Linked DNA regions of Homo sapiens: regions 2 and 3 are each linked to region 1. Evidence: promoter capture Hi-C in 16 types of primary human blood cells and fetal thymus (Javierre and others, 2016). All regions are on one chromosome and are shown on one strand. Each heading gives the region's core, a stretch centred on a gene start or on the middle of the fragment in contact. The rest is flanking DNA. Distances are from core to core; before and after follow the strand shown.

Region 1 (3,805 bases), core at 620-3,119:
TGTCAGAAGACAGCACCAAGACATTCATGAGGGACTGCCCCCATGATCCAAACACCTCCCACCAGGCCCCACCTCTAACACTGGGGGTTACGTTTCAGCATGAGATTTGGAGGGGCCAAACATTCAAACCATGTCACATGGTATTCCATGAAAAAAGCAAGCAGTTCATTTTGCAACTTAAACTGTATAATACATGCTTTTTCCTGGGACTACCATGGTGCTTCAGTAGTCCACAGAAGTACTTTATGTGTACCTACTATTTTGGGACACAAGGGTATTAAAAACCATGTACTCAAGGGCTGATATTTAATAAAATTAATAATTTTTACTGCCGTATCAAAGATGTTCTTAAGTGAGGCTGGCTTTTTTTTTCTTTCTTTTTTTTAATCTATGACTACTGGTGCAGTTGGTACCTCTACCTTGATTAGTGTTAAAGAGCTTGCAGTTTGACCCACTGTTGATTTTGCACCATGGGTACAAATGTGAACACGGAAGAAGGCAAATTATGTCCTAGTATTATGATGAAAGTAGAGTCTTTTGCTGGGACTTGATGCTACAGGCCAGTAGTTCTCAAAGCCTGGTTCCCTGCCCAGCAGCATTAGCATCTCTTGGGAGCTTATTAGAAATGCGAACACCTGGGCCCTTCCCTTCCCTTTCAGTGTCCAGTTCCTGTGGGATGGGGCTGGGCCGCTTCAGCTGCCCCAGGAGACTGAGAGAGTCTGCTGAATTTGAGAAAGTCCACTCTGCTTTCTGGAAGGACTGGCGGGGCGGGAGGGCAGGGAGGATGAGTAAGTTAGGGACAGAGTGTTCTCGTGTTTGTAGAGGATGTGATGCAGCCTGGACTTCAGGCAGTAGGAAGAAGATGGAATGGATTTGCTAGAGACAGATTCTCTAGAACTTTATTGCTGGTAGACCACATAAAAGCTTAGAAAACAGCTGCGCTTTGCTCCGAGACCTGCCAGCCATCAGGGACGAATGAGTTTTAAAGGCCCTTACTGCTTTGTGTCTTGAGGGAATATCTTTTATTAATCGTGAAAAAATCAATCCAGATAACTTGCCTGAGTCATTTCAGTCTCCTTTTTGAGGATGCCTGCTTAAACAGCGACCATGGTCTCTGGAGGGGTAGAGTCTCACATTCGGAGTTCAGTCTCTTAGAAAGTACAGTTCAGTGTGGAAGAATGGCAGTTATGATTTCATTCAGATGTGCCCAGCTGCTGACAAATTGAATACAACGATCAGTGGCAGGCAGAACTCTCATTTGTTGTGTGTTGTCTTGAGTCTGGTGAGGTGTATCCTTTCACTATTGGATTTTACCATTCAGTGCAGTCAGTAGCTCCATTTGATGTAAGTGTAAAGATGGGTCTCTCATTTCAGTTTCAGCAATTATTCTTAAAACCTTTATTTTCCAGTGTTTTAAAGTTTTTAAATTTTATATCTTTTTTTTTTTTTAAACAGATTTGTAAGACTCCAGGGCCTCCCAGCCGTGAATAATCTGATGGTTCCTGAAATGACTGGGGAAGCAGACGCTTCGTATGGCAGTTGAAGAGTGTGTGTCTATGTGCATTTAAAACCTTCTTTCTGTACTTACACATTCACACGGGAAGACAGGCTCATTCTTGTGCACACTTGAGAGTTTTACAACTGATGAAAATTAATTTAAGAATCAGATGGAGCAACTTGACACCAGTGGGCTCAGGAGCCCGGGGAGAAAAATACATCACTAATGGCCAGTTTTCCATATGGTCTGCACGGGTAAAGAAAGTCTGCAAAAAGAAGAAAAAAAAATTTGCGCAGATTAAACCACAAAAATATTCTCCAGTTTAAAGAAGGAACTAAGTGAGAAGGTGACTGAGAAAGAAGTGTGATTTCAAACATTGCAGCGGCTCACACAGTGTTTGTTGCACTTTATTTTTCAGTGGGTTTGGTGATTTGGACGGATTAAAATTCTAGACTGAAAAGTAACTCCTACTGTGGTTATGGCTAGAGGAAAGCAAGTTCAAGTATGATGGGACAAGTTTGAATAATGAACTGATTCCTTTGCCTATCTTAATTAACTGTATTTGAGAAATTTTAATTTATTATTCCCCCCCTTTTTTCCTGCATCTATAGGATAATATTGTAAAATAGCAATTGAAACCAATAATTATTAAATAAATATCAAGGAAAATCCAAGCAAAGCTTTCTTTTTGTTGGACTAGTGGTGTGGTGTTTGGAGACAGTCTCTGAATGTGAACAGGAAAGCACCCATCAGCAAAACACTATCACTCTCTAGGGAGACAGCTGGGGGAATCTGACTCTGGCTTCTGCTTTTGTTTTAAGGGATTAACTTCCCTGTCAAGTCCAAGAAGACTTGCGTATGAGAAGATTACCTGATGGACTTAATTCTAAGATTAGCTTTTTTCATCAAGATGGAAAAAGATCTTTAGGAGCAGAAAAGGGGAGTGCTAACTGGGGGAGCGAGAAGGGAGACGAGCAAAAGAAACAAAATCTTGCCACGTGGCTCTGTTTTGTCAGCAAGAGGATTTAAGACTCACCCAGGGCAAACACTGGGACCACTGTAAGAGCGCTGGAACATTCTGCCTCTTGAGTGAAGGGGCCTTCTTTCTAGCCTCTATGGCACTGAGGGGTGCGCCGGCTGGTGGAGGAGCAGTCCGATGGAGCCCTGCGTTCCCCGGGGACACAGGGCCAAGCTTTGAGGTGGAAAGTTTCTGGTTCTGAAACAACAAGGAGAGAGTCTGTTTTTCTTCCTAAAATTTGGACTCTTGTCTGCACAAACTCTGGTCTGTTTTGCACGGTTTGTGTGCCTTTTTTTCCCTTTATGCAATCTTTTTCAGCTTTAGCAGCAGAAATTTGTCTAGTTCAGGAAACATGCTAGAGGGTGGCTTCAGAAGGAAGATGATCCTGTGTATTCTGTCTCTGCATCCGAACTTTTGAAGAGAAAAATTCGAGCTAGAGGGATTCTTAAAGCCTTAAGTTACTTGAAATCTATGTATTTGCAACCCTTTGTCTCTGGAATCATATTACACTAAACTGGAATCTCAGGCTGAATGAGAATAACCAAGTGGAGTAAAAAGAAGAAAACCGTTTCTTGATCACCACTTAATTAACGATGCTCTTTCTCCAAAGGATCAGCACGTTCTTCCTCTGAGAACTTGAAAATACAAATGGACCCCATGTTTTTTTAAGCATTACCTTTTCTTAGAAGACTGCCATCATCTTTTATAGAGGAATTTTTTCACTATGCATTCGGTGGATCTTTATAAAATACTGACCTTCTAATTAGATTCAGGTCAGTCTTAATTAAAGGGGGAAAAAAGCAACGCAAGCCAACCACAAAAACACATATACCAATGAAAGAAATTGGTTTAAATTTCACAGCATTAACATTACTTTTTAAGTAAAACAGTTCATTGAAGAAAGTATGTATGCAGCAGTGGAACATGGGCCTGTGCTTTGCAGCGATTCCAACATCCTGTGCCTGTCCTGGAAGGGGCGTGTCCCCAAGAGTGAGAAGGAGAAGCCTGTGTGCAGGAGACGCTACTATGAGGAAGGCTGGCTGGCCACGGGCAACGGGCGAGGAGTGGTTGGGGTGACTTTCACCTCTAGTCACTGTCGCAGGGACAGGAGTACTCCACAGAGGATAAATTTCAACCTCCGGGGCCACAATAGCGAGGTGAGCTGTGGTTTTGTTTCACTTTTTGGTCACTTCCAGTGGTGTTTTTGAGCCCCTTGTGGACTTGAAACTTCCTTCATTTCAGTTTCATAGACTTGCTGCCTAGTGAGACTTCCCATGCTGTGAGTTCTG
Region 2 (3,521 bases), core at 11-2,510, 180 kb after region 1:
TTGTACAAGGGCTATCCCAGTGTCTTCCCCCAAGTTCAAGATAAAAGACATGTCATCATCCCAGAAAGTCTGCCTGTGCTCCCTCCATTTGATACCCATTCCCTAGAAGTAATCACTCTTCTGACTTCCATCATCAGCTTTGCTTGTTCTTAAACTTCATATGATATGTCAAACGATATGTTCCCTTTGTATCTGGCTCTTTTTTTTTTTTTGCTCAGTGTAATGATTTTGAGAGTCATCATGTTGTTGCATGTATCAGTAGTTTGTTTTTCTTTATTGCTCCGTGGTATTCCATTGTAATGATTATACTACAATTAGTTTACTCTGTTTACCAATCAATGGATATTTGTAGTTTCCAGTTTGAGGCTATTATGAACAAATCCATGATAAACATTCTTATACAAGTCTTTTTGTGGACATGTGCGCTCATTTCTCTTGGATATAAACTTGGGAAAGGAGTTGCATGGTCATGGGTCAGATACATGTTAAAGTTTATTAGAAACTGCCGAGCAGTATTCCAGGGTAGCCGCACCCACGTAAATCCCTACCAGCAATTTCCAAGAGAGTCCCAGTTTCTTCCATCCTCAGCAGCGGCTCTGTTGTCATTTTTTAGAAATAATTCTACCTTGTTCTGATAGGTGTAGTGGCATCTCATTTCAGTTTAATTCTGATATCTCCAGTGATGGATGCTGCTTCGTTTGCATGTTTCTTGGCCACTTGGCTGTCTTCTTCTTTTGTGAAGTGTCTGTTCAAGTCTTCTGCCCAATTTATTATTGGGTTGTTTTATTGAGTTATAAGAGTTCTTTCTTTCTTTCTTTCTTTCTTTCTTTCTTTCTTTCTTTCTTTCTTTCTTTTCTTTCTTTCTTTTCTTTCTTTCTTTCTTTTCTTTCTTTCTTTCTTTCTTTCTTTCTTTCTTTCTTTCTTTCTTGTCTCGCTCTGTTGCCCAGGCTGGCGTGCAGTGGCATGATCTCGGCTCACTGCAACCTCCACCTCCTGGGTTCAAACGATTCTCCTGCCTCAGCCTCCCGAGTAGCTGGGACTACAGGCTTGTGCCACATGACCGGCTAATTTTTTGTATTTTTAGTAGAGATAAGGTTTCACCATGTTAGCCAGGATGGTCTCAATCTCCTGACCTCATGATCCGCCTACCTCGGCCTCCCAAGGTGCTGGGATTACAGGTGTGAGCCACTGCAACTGGCCCAAGCTCCTGTGTACCCTCCCCTCCCTTTAGAGCAATCACTACAGGGGCATCTGAATGTCTCATTCTTTTTTGTTGTTGTTTTTTCGAGCTGGAGTCTTGCTCTGTCGCCCAGGCTGGAGTGCAGTGGCGTGATCTTGGCTCACTGCAACCTTCACCTCCTGGGTTCAAGTGACTCTCCTGCTTCAGCCTCCTGAGTAGCTGGGACTATAGGCAAGCGCCACCACGCCCGGCTAATTTTTGTATTTTTTAGTAGAGATGGGGTTTCACCATATTGGCCAGGATGGTCTCAAACTCCTGACCTTGTGATCCGCCCGCCTTGGCCTCCCTAAGTGCTGGGCTTACAGGTGTGAGCCACCGCACCCAGCCAAGAGTTCTTTCTTCTAGATTTGAATCCTTTGTCAGATATCTGTATGGCCATATAGTCCAGCACGTGGCATTCTTCTTTTGTGGTTAGTGCTTTCTGTGTCCTGTTCGGGATGTCTTTGGTTACCTAAGGTCATGAAGCCTTTCTTCAGTTCTCTTCCAGCAGCTTTCTAGTTTTAGCTTTCATGCTTATGGATTAATTTTTGTGTTTGGTATGAATTAGAGGTAAATGCTCATTTTTAAATATGCAGATATCCAGTTACTCTAGCAATCTGATTGATGTCTTTTTTCATCTTTGTTCCAGAGCTTGTTAAAATTGCATGTAACATTATGAACTTTCCTATATTTCCAAAGTGCTTTTTTCCCATTATGTAAGCAGAGAGGACATCTAATGCATGCAGCTAAATCCTTCACCTTTAAACGTCCTCTTCAGGTTGCCGTCTTCCTGTGGCTGGACCTCCTCCTGTTGTCCTTTCCCCATTTGGACCCTCCACACAGCAGCCAGGCTAATTGTCCCACATCATAGCTTTAGGGAGCTCAATCTGCCATCCTCCCACTCCTCAGGAGCCCAGAGTTTCTCATCAAGCTCAAAACCAGTATATATGAGACTTAATGCATTTTTTCATAGACTGTTTTAAACCTTACCATACTCATTTTAATCACACTGTCTTTGGGGTAGACTGTCATTAAACATGTGTGTCTCCATGTTACAAATAAAGGGACTGAGAAGCAGAGATACAACATGGGATCAAAAGGCAGCCAAAAAACTTTACTAATTTGATTTAAATATTGCAGATGGTGAAATGCTAGATAAATTTGTTGAAATTCACACTGTTGCAGAAGAAATTATAAGAATCACTGGCATTAGGGTAAGAAATGACTTGTTCCACCTGCCATTTTCCCAGGACTGATTGTGCAGGCCCCTGGCAGAAGGCCATTTCCACGCTTGCTCCAAGGCAACAGAGAGTGAAAGACAGTTAATTCTTTGAGTTCCTTACAAATGGATCGCTGGATCTCATTTCAGTGTATACTAAGTATATTTTGAGATGGGGTCTTGCTCTGTCATCCAGGCTCAAGTGGAGTTGTGTAATCGTAGCTCATTGCAGCCTTGAACTCCTGGGCTCAAGCGATCCTCCTGCCTCAGCCTCCCAAGCAGCTGGGACTGCAGGTGTGTGCCACCACACCCAGTTTCTCAATATATTTTAAAATGTATATTATTCAATGTAAAGTTGTCATTCTTTCCTCATATTCATAAAGCAAAAGCAAGGGGAGAGCTTTGTTAAATTCGGGCACTGGCTGCAGGGTGAGAACCCAACACCCAGGCTGGCTGTCCAGAAAAAGAAAGGACTGCTGGAGTCAGGGCCATGCTCACCATTCCCGCCACGGATGCCTGACCCCTCCTGGCCTTGCCTCCCCAGGATCAGCATTGAGGCCCGCAAGTCACCCAAGCTGCCCCGGGCTGCTCAGGAGCTCTCCCGGTCCCCACGGTTGCCCCTGCGCAAGCCCTCTGTGGGCTCGCCCAGCCTGACTCGGAGAGAGTTTCCTTTTGAAGACATCACTCAGGTAGGAGCCCCCAGTTACCCTGCCTTGCTCCCCTCCTCCTGGGGGCTATGCCCAGAGGGCCCCTTCCTACCCGCCGCCTGCACTGCTCACTGCCACCATGGGTCCCTGAGCTCTGCTCCACATCCTGCACACCACCTACTACCTCAGGAGTAGCCCTCAGGTGGAGCTCTGGCTTCTCCACCTGTGCCCCTCAGCCAGTTCTGATCTTGCAGTGACGGTGGGAGAGAACCTCCCACTTCCCATCACAGCTCCCACCGTCCAGCCCTGCCTGCCTTTCCCTCCTGGTCCCTCAGTGCCCCCTCACCCTCCGGGTGCTGCAGCCACACCTGGTTCTCACCTGTCCCATGCCTTGCCCTGCCTAGATTGTCACCACCCCACCTCCTCCTCGTTTCTG
Region 3 (3,767 bases), core at 291-2,790, 200 kb after region 1:
GAAAACGTTATTAAAATTGTAATACCTAGGTAGTTGGTTGATCACAGTTTGTTAATTGTATAAAAAAAAATTACCTAGAATATCTCTTCCCACTTCCTCGTCCTCGTGAGAACCTGTGGGCAGTATTCAAGCCCTGATGACAAAACCCAGTGTTTTTTGTTGTTGTTTTTTGTTGTTGTTTTTTGTTTTTGTTTTTGTTTTTCTCAGTCTTACCTGTGATGTTGTTTAGGATCAGGCCCCTCTCCTGGGCCTGCTGTGCAGGAGCACAGGAACTATCTGCTGGCGTTGGGTTCCAAATTTGCATTTTATTTGGAAACAGACAAGTAGAAGATGCTACAGAAAAGTATTTTCAAATTTAAACGTTTTTTAATCCCCTGTTTTAGTTAAAAAATTGGAAAAGAAACCGACCCATTTTTTTCCCAGATCAAGATGACATGACATCACTCCCAATTCTCTCCAAACCCCAGAGAAATACTGACGAAGTTTTCTGATGTGGCAAAGGATATTTCCCATCTAATACCAGTTTCTCATTTATATTTAACGTATTGGACCTGATATTTTTAGTGGGTGCATTCTTCCAGAAAGAATTCAGCAATGTTATCAGAATTAATTCTTTTATATGAGTTTATGTAGCTTGATATGGTGTTTCAGTGCTTATTGGTTGTGCAATAATGGTTATAGCCTGTTAGATAATCTAAATGCAATTCCCCTGTTTTGTCGTTTAGGAGATAATTATTTATCTTGCTTTTCATAGTGTTCTTAGGAATTATTTTGTTGTTACGTTTTGGTGAGTTATACCCATTTTATTTATTTAGAAAAATAGTATCTTTGTTAACGACTTACATGGTCACAGTATATTTTGCTGCAAGAAATAAAGAGGATATGATAGAAGGTTTTTTTTTTTTTTTTTTTTTTTTTTTGAGACGGAGTCCCACTCTTGTCGCCCAACTAGAGTGTAGTGGCACAATCTCGGCTCCCCACAACCTCTGACTCCAGGGTTCAGGTGATTATTTTGCCTCAGCCTCCCAAGCAGCTGGGATTATAGACACCCGCCAACACGCCAGGCTAATGTTTTTGTATTTTTAATAGAGATGGGGTTTTGCCATGTTGGCCAGGCTGGTCTTGAACTCCTGACCTCAGGTGATCCGCCCGCCTCGGCCTCCCAAAGTGCTGGGATTACAGACGTGAGCCACCACTCCCGGCCCATAGAAGGTTTTTTGCTGGATAATTTGTAACTTTTCTAATTGGGAAAAAATTCCTATTAATCACTTAAAAATTTTTTTTTGTATTTTGTGTTATTGATTATATACAAAGGAGACTTTTTTTTTGAGATAACACTCAAATAGTATTCTCTTCTTTTGAAAATTTTATTTTTATCTGAAAATAACAGTTGATCTGAAATAAAAAGGGGAGACCTATTAGAATGAGAGTAGCCAAGGAAAGAGTTACTAGGTAATAAGCTTCACTTTTTGTGTTCTAATTGTTTTTGAGATATAAAGACCCTGAAAAAGCCCATTTTAGAACCTGTTTAATAAGAGCAAATATAGGGGAAAATCTTTGAAATGAAAGCTACAAATACATGTGAGAAGAAAAAAATGGATTTTTTTAGCAAATAATTAACTAAGCTTCTAAATGCCTAGCTCCCTCCCCCAAAGGCGCTTTCCCCCGATGGAGGCACAGGCTTCTGTCTCGGATGTTTGGCGCACGTGAGTTTGTATGAGTTTGTACCGGAGTGACCCCGGCAGCCACTGCCCACCTCCCCTCTACCCAGGGGCCTGAAAAGAGGGGCTGCCCTCCTGCGCCAAGGCAGACACAAGCTGCGGGCTGTGCGGTCCTAGTAGTGTGACGTTTCAGTTAATAGTGGTGGTCTTATTTTCAACTATGCTTTCATTCAGTCAGTCTCTGTTGACTAAATACGACGAAAATTCATACTTTATGCAGGAGATTTCTAAAAATTTAATGTTTATTAATAGTTTATGAATATCAAGATACCTCATTGAATCCCTAAATTTAAAAGCAGTCCAGTAAAAGGTTAACTGTATAAAGAATCTATGACTTTTTGAGGGAAGTGTGATATATTAACAAATATAACCAATTCTAAATTTGTTTTAGCTCTAACCTCATCAAACCAAAGGCACAGATTTGTGTACAATATACCCATTGAATGTATATCCTGAGAAAAATTGGGGCCAAAGAAGCAGGAAAATCTCAAAGCTCTAATGGCAGCATAAATCAAAGAATTTCACAGGCTAGTGTTTTTATCCATAGCCATTGCTCCCTTGTCAAGTGTCTCACAAGGACATGGAAGAATGTGTTATGTTCATCTTGTAATCATAGCAAAAAGTCTGCAAACCCCAGGGTCAAGCCTGCTCTGCCACAGGGTTGGATGGTGACCTTGGGCAAGTCCCTGGGGCTGGCTAGGCCTCCACTTGTCCATCTGTGAAATGAAAGGATCAGCCTGGACAGCCCTCTAAACTCCCTTACAGCTCTCAGCCTAAGAGCGCAGCACTGAACAGCCTCATCATTCCACTTTTCATGGGAAATATATTTCACACCATTGCCTTTGTGTAGAGAAATATTTCTTTTCCTGTGTTAATGAGCTATGTACTGAATATAAACCAGTGCATTTAAAGTAATATCTTTTGTGCACCTCTAAATGTGTTTGGAATTGTGTTTGTTCTCATAGAATATACAAAAGTACTGATTCTAGGTAAGAAGGAGTCTCCACGGGTGTGCCCTGCTCAGCTGGATGTCCATGAGAACAGCCATGAAATAAGTCACTACTTGTCCCCAAAACCACAGGAATATATACCTAGGTCACCTCAAATTCCTGAGTGTGCTCTGCCATGTTACACGGTCTTCAAATTGAAAAGGTTTCTTGAAAAGGAAAGTTTGGCCCAGCAACTGGAGAAGGAGTCCATGGTGTCGCTGTGTGCCTGTATCATTTGGCCAAGTCAATGGTTGTAAGCAAAGTTAGTGGAGACAAAAATGTGTCCAAAATGTCGTTTGAGTTCCTGGGATTTCTGTAATAGCACACAACTCAGAACTCTTCAGCATTTGTGTGATTCCTTACCTCTGGCTGATAAAACTCTAATGGGTTGTGGCTTACTTTGTTTCCATTTTCTTTGGCTTTGTGCAATTTTTGTGTAACTTTACTTGTACCTATATTTTCTGTTTACAGTTCTTTTTAAGGGGAGGGGTAGGGTTCTAAGATCTTGTTGTTTATTGTAGATAAAAATTTTTTCGTGTTGTAGAAAAGCATGGGTTATGCGTTTGACTGAAAAAGACACTGTATTATTTACCAAAGGGGTATTGTTTTTGCATTTGTTTATAAATGCATTATTTTGGTACTGTAAATTTGGACATAATTTCTGAGTTTATTACTACTGGCATTTTCTTTTTCCCTTTTTTTTTTTTTTAACCGTAAGTGCACGATGCAGGTGCATAGGCCCCAGACCAAACTAGACCACCAGCATGTTCATGTCCAGACCTCGGCAGTGGCGTGCACTGCTTGTGCACCTCAGTTCCTCCAGTGTTGGTTTGTTTGTTTTTTAATTCAGCATCCTGCTGGTTTTACTTTCCAAGCAAGATCTGTTGCGACTCCCAAATGCGTTTTAATGAGCTCATCCTTATTTGCCTTTCTTCTTACGTATTTTGTGTATTAGATTGTGCAGGAGATATTCTAGAAGGCATTAATGGTTTGCATTCAAAACGATGTGGTTTGTCCAAGTTATTTTCTGTCTTTATTACTGAGACGGATTAATCTC

The links. Contacts are between HindIII fragments. The CHiCAGO score rates a contact against its expected background, and 5 or more counts as called.
Region 2: a fragment that was not itself captured here is called in contact with the fragment with the promoter of TULP4 in region 1 in 2 of 17 cell types (M2 macrophages and M0 macrophages); the score reaches 5.3 in M2 macrophages.
Region 3: a fragment that was not itself captured here is called in contact with the fragment with the promoter of TULP4 in region 1 in 2 of 17 cell types (M1 macrophages and endothelial precursors); the score reaches 5.7 in M1 macrophages.

What each region holds. Positions count from the first base shown.
Region 1 is chr6:158,310,596-158,314,400 of GRCh38, forward strand. It overlaps TULP4 (TUB like protein 4), which reads left to right and starts at 1,870. Exons shown (of 14, transcript NM_020245.5): 1 at 1,870-3,673. The coding sequence starts at 3,422. RefSeq lists an enhancer at 3,494-3,573. The HindIII fragment of the contact is 1,254 bases long and covers 923-2,176 here.
Region 2 is chr6:158,490,591-158,494,111 of GRCh38, forward strand. It overlaps TULP4 (TUB like protein 4), which reads left to right. Exons shown (of 14, transcript NM_020245.5): 10 at 2,983-3,127. Among named protein-coding and RNA genes, the nearest start is that of TMEM181, 68 kb to the right of the region's middle. The HindIII fragment of the contact is 4,804 bases long and covers 1-3,521 here.
Region 3 is chr6:158,507,986-158,511,752 of GRCh38, forward strand. It overlaps TULP4 (TUB like protein 4), which reads left to right. Exons shown (of 14, transcript NM_020245.5): 14 at 1-3,767. Among named protein-coding and RNA genes, the nearest start is that of TMEM181, 50 kb to the right of the region's middle. The HindIII fragment of the contact is 165 bases long and covers 1,459-1,623 here.